Regions from separate parts of the Homo sapiens genome. Here region 1 is linked to region 2. Evidence: promoter capture Hi-C in 16 types of primary human blood cells and fetal thymus (Javierre and others, 2016). All regions are on one chromosome and are shown on one strand. Each heading gives the region's core, a stretch centred on a gene start or on the middle of the fragment in contact. The rest is flanking DNA. Distances are from core to core; before and after follow the strand shown.

Region 1 (6,664 bases), core at 2,473-4,972, 2.2 Mb after region 2:
ATATTTTTACTATTATTTTATTATTAAAATTGAGACAATTATAATAAACATTATCAATAAAAATAATTTTGTCTTTCTGTATCCTAAAACACATAAATTTCTAATAGTTATTAATTAACAGGAAAGAAAATACAATGGTTACCTAATTTTAACAATGAACCTTTTTAGGTCAGTGATACCCATTTGAAAGAATTCACTTTCTTGATAGACTCTAAAGACATTCATCTTTAGGTTCTTAAAATTAATAAAATTATAGTTAAGTGATGTTCAAAATGTGGATCTTCATGATTCCATTTGTAAATAAATTTTATTACGTAATATTTTCAAAGCCATATTGTTTTAGTTAATTTTTAAATTGGGAATATCTCCAAACACAGTTACGGGCTTAAAAGTGAATTTTTGGCTAATATGAGCTATTTGGCAATTTTTTAATCCTGGATTTCCCCACATTTCTGTTTATTATACTACAATCAAAAATGATATTATGAAATACATTAAGCTTAATGAGATTTTGGTTTGAAACACAAAGTAATTAAGAAAAACAAAACTAAAGCCAAAGTACTAAATTCTAAAATTAAAACATTAAGTAAAACCACTGTTTACCCATGGGATGCCTGGAAGAGAGTATCATTGGGACATGTTGGCTGATGGTAATTCCCCTCCCTTCTTCTACAGTTTGTGTGAAGTTCCAATAAAAATACTTGGTTCTAAAACATGTAGACAATTAATAAATATGAACATAAATAAACACTTTAAAAGTAAAAAGGACAACTTAAGGTTTTGAGTCTTACTGAAAATAAATCAGAACTTGAATGAAAACAAAAATCAAAGAAAGCTGCATAGAATTTTCTCAATGCCAAAAAATTCCTACTAAAAAACGTCCTTGTGTTACAGACAACTTTTTTGGGAATATAAACATTAATTTTGGAGTATGCTAAATAAAATAAACTTTCCCTCCACCAAAGAATAGTATCTAGAACAACATTCAAATGAATTTCCTAATTTTATTAACAAGGAATAGTAGACATGATGTCATTAAGATTCTTATCTTCAAATCTTCCACCTTGGATTTGTGAAAGTTATGAGTGTGTATACTATGTCCTATTTGAATATATACACATAACACATATGCACACTATGTATGTATATATATGTATATATATATATATTTGTATGTGTATATATTTGTACATATATTTGTATAAATATATGTATTTGTTCATATATGTATTGTTCATATGTATTGTTCATATGTATATGAACAAATACAGTTGATCCTTGAACAACACAGGAATTAGGGTCACTGACCCCATGCAGTCAAAACTTTGTGCTTAACTTTTGACTCCCAAATCTTAATTACTAACAGCCCACTGTTGACCAGAAGCCTTTCTGATAACAAAAACTCAATCAATACGCATTTCATAAATTATATGTATTATGTAGTGTATTCTTACAATAAAATAAGCTAGAGAAAAGAAAATGTTATTTTAAAAAATCATAAGGAAGAGAAAATGCATTTACTATTCATTAAGTGGAAGTGGATCATTATAGAGTTCTTCATTCTTCACATTGAGTAAGCTAAGGGGGAGGAGGGAAAGGAGGCGTTGGTCTTGCTATCTCAAGGGTGGAAAGTGGAAGAAAATCCACATACAAGGGGACCCTCGCGGTTCAAACCTGTGTTGTTCAAGGGTCAACTATAATGTCATGACTCTTCTTTGCTTCCTGGGAGCATTTCCAGCATCACTATCGCATTTTCTATAGGTCTCATGGTGTTATTCAAGGTTTATGATATTGCATTACACAAGAAGAAAAATACACACAAATCATGAGAAATCATTTTTACTGCAATATCCAACTGATTGGAGATACAACTGGCTCATGCAGAGATGATTAGCATCACATGGTGTTTTAAGCAGATACTCACAGCACTTGAGCTCACTGCAGTAGCAACAGGAGGTGGCTATGAAATTATTACAGTAGTACAGTATGTACCACAGTTAATTTTATGCAGTGATGACTTAATACTGCATGTTTATGTTTGTTTCCATTTCTCTAGACTACAAAGGGCGCTATGTACAGTCTGTTTGTATGCATATGTTTTGAGAATTTTTAACTTTTGTGTATATTTTATGATAGTAATAAGAAAATAGACCAGTATCTACATATATTTTATACATTCATGACATGGCTAATTAATCTTAATATTTTCAACATTTCAAAGATACACAGTTCTTCCATGAGTTTTTTCAAATTATCACAAATCTACAGATAATTTTCCAATAGGTTTATTGAAAAAAAAAATCCACCTGTAAGTGTATCCATGCTGTTAAAACTTGTGTTGTTCAAGGCTCAACTGTGTGCAATATATACCTATATGCACACTGTATTAAGGTTTATTAAAAAGTCTAGGGCAAACCATGAAATAATAATAGTAGCTACTTCTGGGCTGTGGAAATCTGGGCAAATTTTTTTTCACTTTGTTAGAATCTACAAATTGCAAATTATTTGGTGAAAGATTCTCATCAGTATACTATTCCTGGATGCCATTAAAACACAAATACATAAAAGTATTAATAGGAGAATTTTGGGAAAATGTGACCCAAGAAGTTATTTCTTTCCTACTCTATTATTCTTTTCTTCTTAAATCTGCTGAAATGAGTCTACATCTTTTTTTTTAATTGTAAAGTTAAAGTTTATTTTTAAAACTAATATTTAGAAACGGGGATATTAGCAGTGAAGGTTAAGGAGATTGAAGGATCCTGACCCTACTAGTTATTGAAGCCTCTTATAATACAAATTACCTTAAAAATATTCTTTAAAGCATATAAATAGAATAATCAATTAAAAAAAAGAGTCTCAAATAGATTCAACTCTTATGAGGAACTTAATAAAACACAGTAAGCTTTTCAACACCAAGGAGTTAAAAAGAACTATTTAATACATTTGGTTGAGATACCAGTTAGAAAGGAAAAAAGAGAGAGGGGGAAGTTAAAGCCAATGTGAGATGATTCATCAAAATAAACAACAGAAGGACTAATGAGTTAAAACAAAACACTCAACTATGAAAAAGTCAAAGTGGCAGGGAGTCAACTACTTAAGAAAACATGAACAAATGTATTTTTAGCTTTAATATTAGGGAAAATTTTTTAAAGATTATCACTTTACTATAGAGAAATGCAAAATGTTCAAGTAAAAAAAGAAGCAAAACTGTTAAAATATTTACATCAAAATTTTGATCAATTATCAATATGTCTAATTAGGAAGAGCTTATCCAAAATTATAAAAACATGGGACAGACAAGTGGAGACAGTTATAAATAAAAATTAGCAAAAGATAAAATTATAAATAATCAAAATATGCAGAAAGTTTATTCATATTAGTAAACAAGCAACACATCAAAATAAATGTGAGATATTGTTTTACAACTACTAAACTAGTCAAAATACACTTTAAAAATAACATGCAAGCAAGAATGTGGAGAACCGGTACACCACATTTTTGATTGCATGTATAACTCATTTTGAAAACAATATGGCAGTCGGAAGCAAGGGTGATGAAGATGTTTCTTCTCCCTAGCTCAGATATTCCACTATATGAATTTTATATTGAATATATAATTTCACAGAAATAAAAGAGTTCTGTGCAAAACTTTTGCATGTTGTATTATAGCAAAGAGAATGGAAATAACCATTTAAAACAATTGTTAGATAAATTAATACAGATATATGAAAAATACTTAGAAATAGGAAAAATCCTTATTGTATAAGTCAAAACAAAAAATATTATAGTATATATTCCGTATTATTTTCAATTATGTAGGAAATATAGACTATAAAATGCAGACGATAAAAATAATTGATGTGTTAAAATAATAAAAATGTGCATGTTTCCTAATTTAAAAATGTTTAAGCCCAGTTATTCCTGATAACTAGTATAAAGATACAATAACCAGATACCAAAAATTATGGTTTTATAAAATAAGAAACAATTTTTTATGAATAAAGCATATAGTCAAAAAATAAGTTTATAGTCAGGGTACCTCATGCGTGTGTGTGTGTGTGTGTGTGTGTGTGTGTGTGTGTGTGTGTGTGATAGAAGGGTCCCTGGTCTATCTCTCACTACATTTCTTATGCAATTCTCTTCAGAAGTGAAAATATACATAAATTATTGCATGTATTCTGTGGACTTCATAGCGTCACTGTGAAGGTTAAACGAAATAGTATGTTTGAAAATGCCTATTCTGGTCTATAGCTGTACGATACGTTCCAGGTGCTCAAAAAATATTCTTTCAATATATTTAATAAAAGGACAATAATATTAAGAATTTGTTATATTATAACTTTAATAAATGTATACAAAGATTCTTTTTTTCACCTTCAAATGAAAGAACTAGAATCGATCATTTTGGTAGGCCCCACCAACTCTGTAAAGTTCCGTGGAATGAGCAGAACATGAAGAAAGTCAGAAATCAGTAAAGGACGATTATAAGAAGACGATAAATGCATGGATCCCCTGGAAAAGCGTACCTTAAAGAGAAGCTTTAAAATCTGTGTGTGTGTCTGTGCGTGTGTGTGTGTGTGTGTGTAAAATAACCTTTTTAACAAATAAACAAAATTAAAGTACAACATACAGGGCCTTTCATTACAACCTTCACCTGGTTTCACAACATGTAATGTACATTCAGAAAACAGATGTCTTTAACTTTCTATGACCCAGGTAGTAAGCAAAGTCTAATTCTAACATGTAATGCTTTTTTTTATTTTTCTGGAGTGATGAATAATGCTTCTCACATGGGAGGGCATTATCTACCTGAGGAAACACATATGGCCCTTTTATCTCCTCTATGCTTAATGCACAGATAAATACTTACACACGCACAGAGAAATGCTTCCAGTCACACGATCTGCTCATTGGAGGAAAAAGCACACCCATGCAGCCTGTTACATTTGCCAGCGCTGGGGCTTTGCTCTAAAGCAATGTCTGCTTTGGATGGCAAATTTCATAGTCTCTATTTAATAGGTTCATAGAGGGGATACTCACCTCCAGCTCCCCCAGACTGGATGTTATTCTCTAATCCCTGACTCCTAAAAGTGTCTGTGCCCAAAACATACCTGTTTCTTCTGGACCCTGAACGGCACGCTTATTTCTGCTGTTCTGACTGGAGTTGCCTTCTCCTGGAGCTGGTGGTTCAAAGATCTATGAACAGAAAAACTTCAAGTTATTAGAAAGACAGCTGAGGCGAGGGAGAGGCAGCAGTGTAGGCAGGATCTTGCCTGCGTCTTGCAGCTGCTGCAAACTCACTTTCAGTCCCGCGGTGACAGCTGGAGCTTCCTCCAGGCCGGCCTTGGGGGCTCCTGCTCCTGCTGGCAGCTTCTCCGCGTGGTGGCCCTGCAGCTCTGCCCGGAGGCTGGCCAGGTCCCCTTGCAGGGCGGCCACCTGGTAGAAAGACACCACCGTGAGGCAGCAAGACAGCAGTGCCAGCAGCAAGGTTGCAGCCAGCAGCTTTCCGTCTTTGGAGGATCGGACAGAGGGGCTTTCCTTCCGTGGGAGGATGGAAACACACTCCTTCAGTTTCATTTCTTCTCTTTTCTTAAGGCAAGAAGTAAGGCGTGACTGCTCCCTTTCTGTGGAGTCATCCATATCACTACTTGAACTTTGAAGGTTGGGGCCTTTAGAATAAGTGACCACAGGGAATGGATCATTTCCTGTTATCTGTGTTTGTTGATGTCCTGCGTGCACTACATGGCAGGGCTTGGCTCACCCCTCAGGAGAGTTATCCTGAATTTTCTCCTTTCTGCCTTTCTGCATCTCTACCCCTACTGTACAGTAGGTTTGCTGGCATTTACCCTCCGATTGGATTGCTCAATCTGTCTTCCTCATTTCACTTTCAGTTTTTGTAAGAATTTCAAAGTCTTCTCATAACACTCATGCTCAAGTAGATTTAAAACCCCTTAAATCTGCTGAGGAAACTTGGAGTTTGGATTGGCACAGTCAAGGGAAAGCTTTTAAGATATGCTCAGGTCTGAGAAGCCCACCCTTAAGTGTAGCAAGGGAACTCTGTCTGCTTGGGACCACATGGCTTCATAAGGAAGGGGGAAAAGCAGCTGAAAGTTCCTGCTGCTGTCATAAAAATAATTAATGTGAAGGTCAGATAAGCTAAGTGTTTTAGCATTGAATTGTTCTTAGCTAGAGAGTGATTTATTAACAGTCTTCAATTATGAAATAAAATGGAGAATCCTTGAAGGAAGTGTGGAAGTAAGTCCACTGGGAATTATTCATATTATTATACTAATAATGTCATAAAAAGAATGAGAGTAAATGTTACAGACGTATTTAGGTTAGATATCTGAAGGATTCTCTAAATATAAGTGAATATATTTTTAAGGAAAACATGCATAAACTTTTTCCTTCTGGGACTCATCACTGAAACTCAATCATGCATATGAACAGCCTGTCCCAAGGAGCCTGGTCTCAGCTTTTCTGCTCAGACTTCTGAGGCTTTAAGTCCCCGCTCAATATGATACTAGTTGAGGAGAATCAGCCTTGCCTCCAGCTCCAAATGCCTGACTGCTACCATTAACCACTCTCAAGTAGCTTGTCTACAACTCCCATGTTGACTGTGCCACAGCCTAACAGGTCGGTGTACAAGAGGTCCTTGATCACA
Region 2 (3,326 bases), core at 827-3,326:
TTAAAGATCGCCTCGACTTCCCTGTTTCCTTTCCCATTTCCCGGAATTCTGAGCTATGGATCCAGAACAGAAAGACAACAGAGATGAACAGGAACCTAGTGCCATGGTCAGCCAGGTCACAGGAGCCAGTGACAGACTGTGTAGCAGTCTAAGCAATGCCACGGAAGCCGGTTCTGGAAGGCACATGTACATGCTTGAGCATTTCTCTCTTCCCACCCGCCAGCTCCCCTGCATCAGCCTGGGCCTTCATCTCCAGAACAGCGAAGGCACAGGCTTTTGTGTTCTACTGTGGGTGGAGAAAGAAACACATGATTTTGTTGTTATAATTTAGCATCGGTAAAATGGCTGTTATTTTAAGAGATGCTACGTTGTTAAAGGAAAGGAAGCTAATTTGGACAAGGAAAGAGCCGTGTGCGCCTCAGAAGTCAGGAGAGATTACAGGATTGGGAATGGAGAGGGGCTGCCCTGTGGATGAAAGCACCAGCTGCAGGGTGCGGGGGGGAGCTGGTGGGAGGTGCAGGGATGGGGTGGGGAGGCTGGCAGCAGTGATGCTGGTGTGATCTGCGCACACACCACGGCACGGCTCGGTGCTGTCCCCACGTGCTGGTGGAACAGCCATGCGCATAAGCTCCCGCTCATCTGCTGAGCCACGGGACGAGGCTGGGTGTTCTCATGACAATGAGGCAGCTGCTTATAAGAAATCAAACCCTGCTCTCCACTGACACCACAGCCCCTTCCTTGTCAAAGGCATGACGGAGCGGGGCAGGGACACCGGTCCAGCTCTATTTATGAGACCTTGATTAAGTGGTGTACCCCTGTGTTTTAGCTTTTTTTCACAGGGGAGGGGGACACAAGGCTGTTGCAGAGATCACAGGGCAGATGCCCCAAACTTAGTGGACAGCAGTGGGGATGATGCCACTGGAAGGTGGCACAGGCAGGATCACGAGTTTTCTAAAGGCAGAAGTTGACATTCTTGGTTTAGAGATGCCACCAAACAAGGAAGGCACACAAGCACTGGGAAAGTCCCTACACCCCGAGAATGGGAAGCTGAGGCTGCAAGGTTCTCCCTGACCCTAACCCTCACCCCTACCCCTAACCCTGCTCCGACCACCTGCCCCCAGCTGGGCTGGGACTGGCAGCCAGGCTTGGGAGCCGCAGGGGTGGGTGAACCCCATGGCTGGACAGGTGCACCTCCTGGTCACCAACTTCACAAGGCACCAACTCCAGGGAAGGCCACCACTACCGTAACAAATCCAGACTCAAACGGACCACACACATACACACATGAGCACACCACACACCACACATACACTCACCACCCCCACCCCACATGACACTGAACAGGCCAAAGACTGTTCCAACCACAGGAATCATCACTCATCCTCCTCTTCTGGCTAAAGTGACCAATTATGACTTTGCCTCTTATTTAACCCTGTTGCCTCCCAGATGAGATTTTTAAGATACCCAATCATAGAATTATCTGTGTTCTCTGGCCCCAAAAAACTGCACTTAAATTGTAAAAATGTGGGCCGGGTGTGGTGGCTGATGTCTATAAAACCAGTGCTTTGGGAAGCCAAGGCAGGAGAATCACTTGAGCCCAGGAGTTTGAGACCAGCATGGGCAACATAGAGAGATCTCATCTCTACAGAAAATTTTAAAAATATTAGGTGGGTGTGCTGGTGTGCACCTGTGGTCCCAGGTACTCGGGAGGTTGAGGCAGGAGGATGGCTTGAGTCCAGAAGTTCGAGGCTGCAGTGAGCTTTGATTGTACCACTGCACTCAAGAGTGTTATTACAGACATGACCCACGTTAAAACTAGAGAAGACATGGGTTATGGAATGAGGCAAATAAGCTGCGAATAGAATTCAGGCGTGAGGCTCTGAGGAGGAGAAAGAGGATTATGACTTCAATCGTCCTCCAATGATGCTGAAGTCTTAACCCCCAGGACCTAGACATGTGACCTTATTTGGAAATAAGGTCTTTGAGGGTGCTCAAGGTCAGATGAGGTCTTTAGGATGGGCCCATTCCAATATGACCGCTCTCCCTATAAAAAGGGGAAATTTGGGCCCAGAGACAGACACACAGAGAGGACAGATGATGAGAAGACAGAGAGAAGACAGCCGTCTATAAGCCAAGGAATGCCAGAGCTCCGGGAACCTGGGAGAGAGGCAGGGACAGATCCTCCCGCACTGTCTCAGAAGGAACCAGCCCTGCAGACACCTTGATGTCGGCTTTCAGCCTCCAGAGCTGTGAGACCATACATTTCTGATGTCTAAGCTGCCCAGTCTGTGGCAGTTTGTGACCTCAGCCCCAGGAAACCAGTACAAAGAGCTTAAGGAGGTACAGGCTTGGTGACTAGAGGGAGGAAAATGGAATCTAGAAAAAAAGACGTGAGAAATAAGGTTGCAAGGTCCTTCTGAGAAGAGAATGCTCCAGAGCTGGCAGTGGGAAAGGCGTGGTGGCAGGAGAGGCTCAGAGGCTGGAGGGTGCACAGGAAGGGGTCTTGTCTCCCTCCATGGCTGCCTCCCGCGCCTCTGACCCCAGCCTCCCCTGAGGAAATGATGCTGGGGTCTCTGCAGGCTACTAGGTAGCCCCTCCTTCAACACCAGTGTGTGTTTGTTGCAAAAATGAAATTGTATATTTCATGATTTACCTTGGAAAAATAGGGTTCCACCACCCATTTTAGAATAGTCTACTTTTTTTGGCGGGGGAGGGTTCTTAGTCTGTTACACCAGGAGGAATATTTCTTTGATTGTTGACTTTTAAATGTTCATTTGGAGCTTGGCTTCTAACTTAATTCACCGTTTCCTAAAAAGTCTGATTTCTGCTCATTAGAAATAGAATGAGCAGAATGAGCAGCCTGTCCTATGCACAGGTTGGTTTAGTGCTCATGTCAATACTGTTTGCTTCTGGGGTGTTTGGAGAACCTGAAGGATGAAGAAGAGAGGACGGAGCTGCCGCAGTTTGTGGCTACTCACGGGAGGGCCTGGGAGGCCGGGGAATCCATCGAGCCCATCGCGGCCTGGGCTGCCATCGTCACCTTTCATCCCGGGCACACCTGGGACGCCGGGCTGTCCCCGCTCACCTAGAAAGGGATTTGCATGTGAAGCTGCCCAGGCAGGTGCCCACAGGAAGGCTCAGTGCCCCAGGGGCCGCGTGGCCAGAGAGGAACTCACCTTTGGTTGTGATTGTTCTGGAATCTCCTTTTGCTCCTTTGGGTCCGGGAGCACCAATGTTGCCAGGCACTCCCTGTGGAAAACAGACAAAAAAATATCTTCCTTCTTTGTACTGTGAGGGCATCTGAGAAGATGGCTGGCAAGCTTTTT

Evidence for each region. Contacts are between HindIII fragments. The CHiCAGO score rates a contact against its expected background, and 5 or more counts as called.
Region 1: a fragment that was not itself captured here is called in contact with the fragment with the promoter of COL4A2-AS2 in region 2 in 1 of 17 cell types (M1 macrophages); the score reaches 5.2 in M1 macrophages.

The regions. Positions count from the first base shown.
Region 1 is chr13:108,268,872-108,275,535 of GRCh38, reverse strand. TNFSF13B (TNF superfamily member 13b) reads right to left here and starts at 5,818. Exons shown (of 6, transcript NM_006573.5): 1 at 5,302-5,818; 2 at 5,112-5,196. The coding sequence starts at 5,640. RefSeq lists a silencer at 4,913-4,992 and enhancers at 4,893-5,401, 5,353-5,782. The HindIII fragment of the contact is 1,636 bases long and covers 2,905-4,540 here.
Region 2 is chr13:110,462,037-110,465,362 of GRCh38, reverse strand. COL4A2-AS2 (COL4A2 antisense RNA 2) reads left to right here and starts at 2,076. Exons shown (of 5, transcript NR_171022.1): 1 at 2,076-2,340. COL4A2 (collagen type IV alpha 2 chain) reads right to left here. Exons shown (of 48, transcript NM_001846.4): 23 at 3,177-3,249; 24 at 2,979-3,085. The HindIII fragment of the contact is 13,540 bases long and covers 1-3,322 here.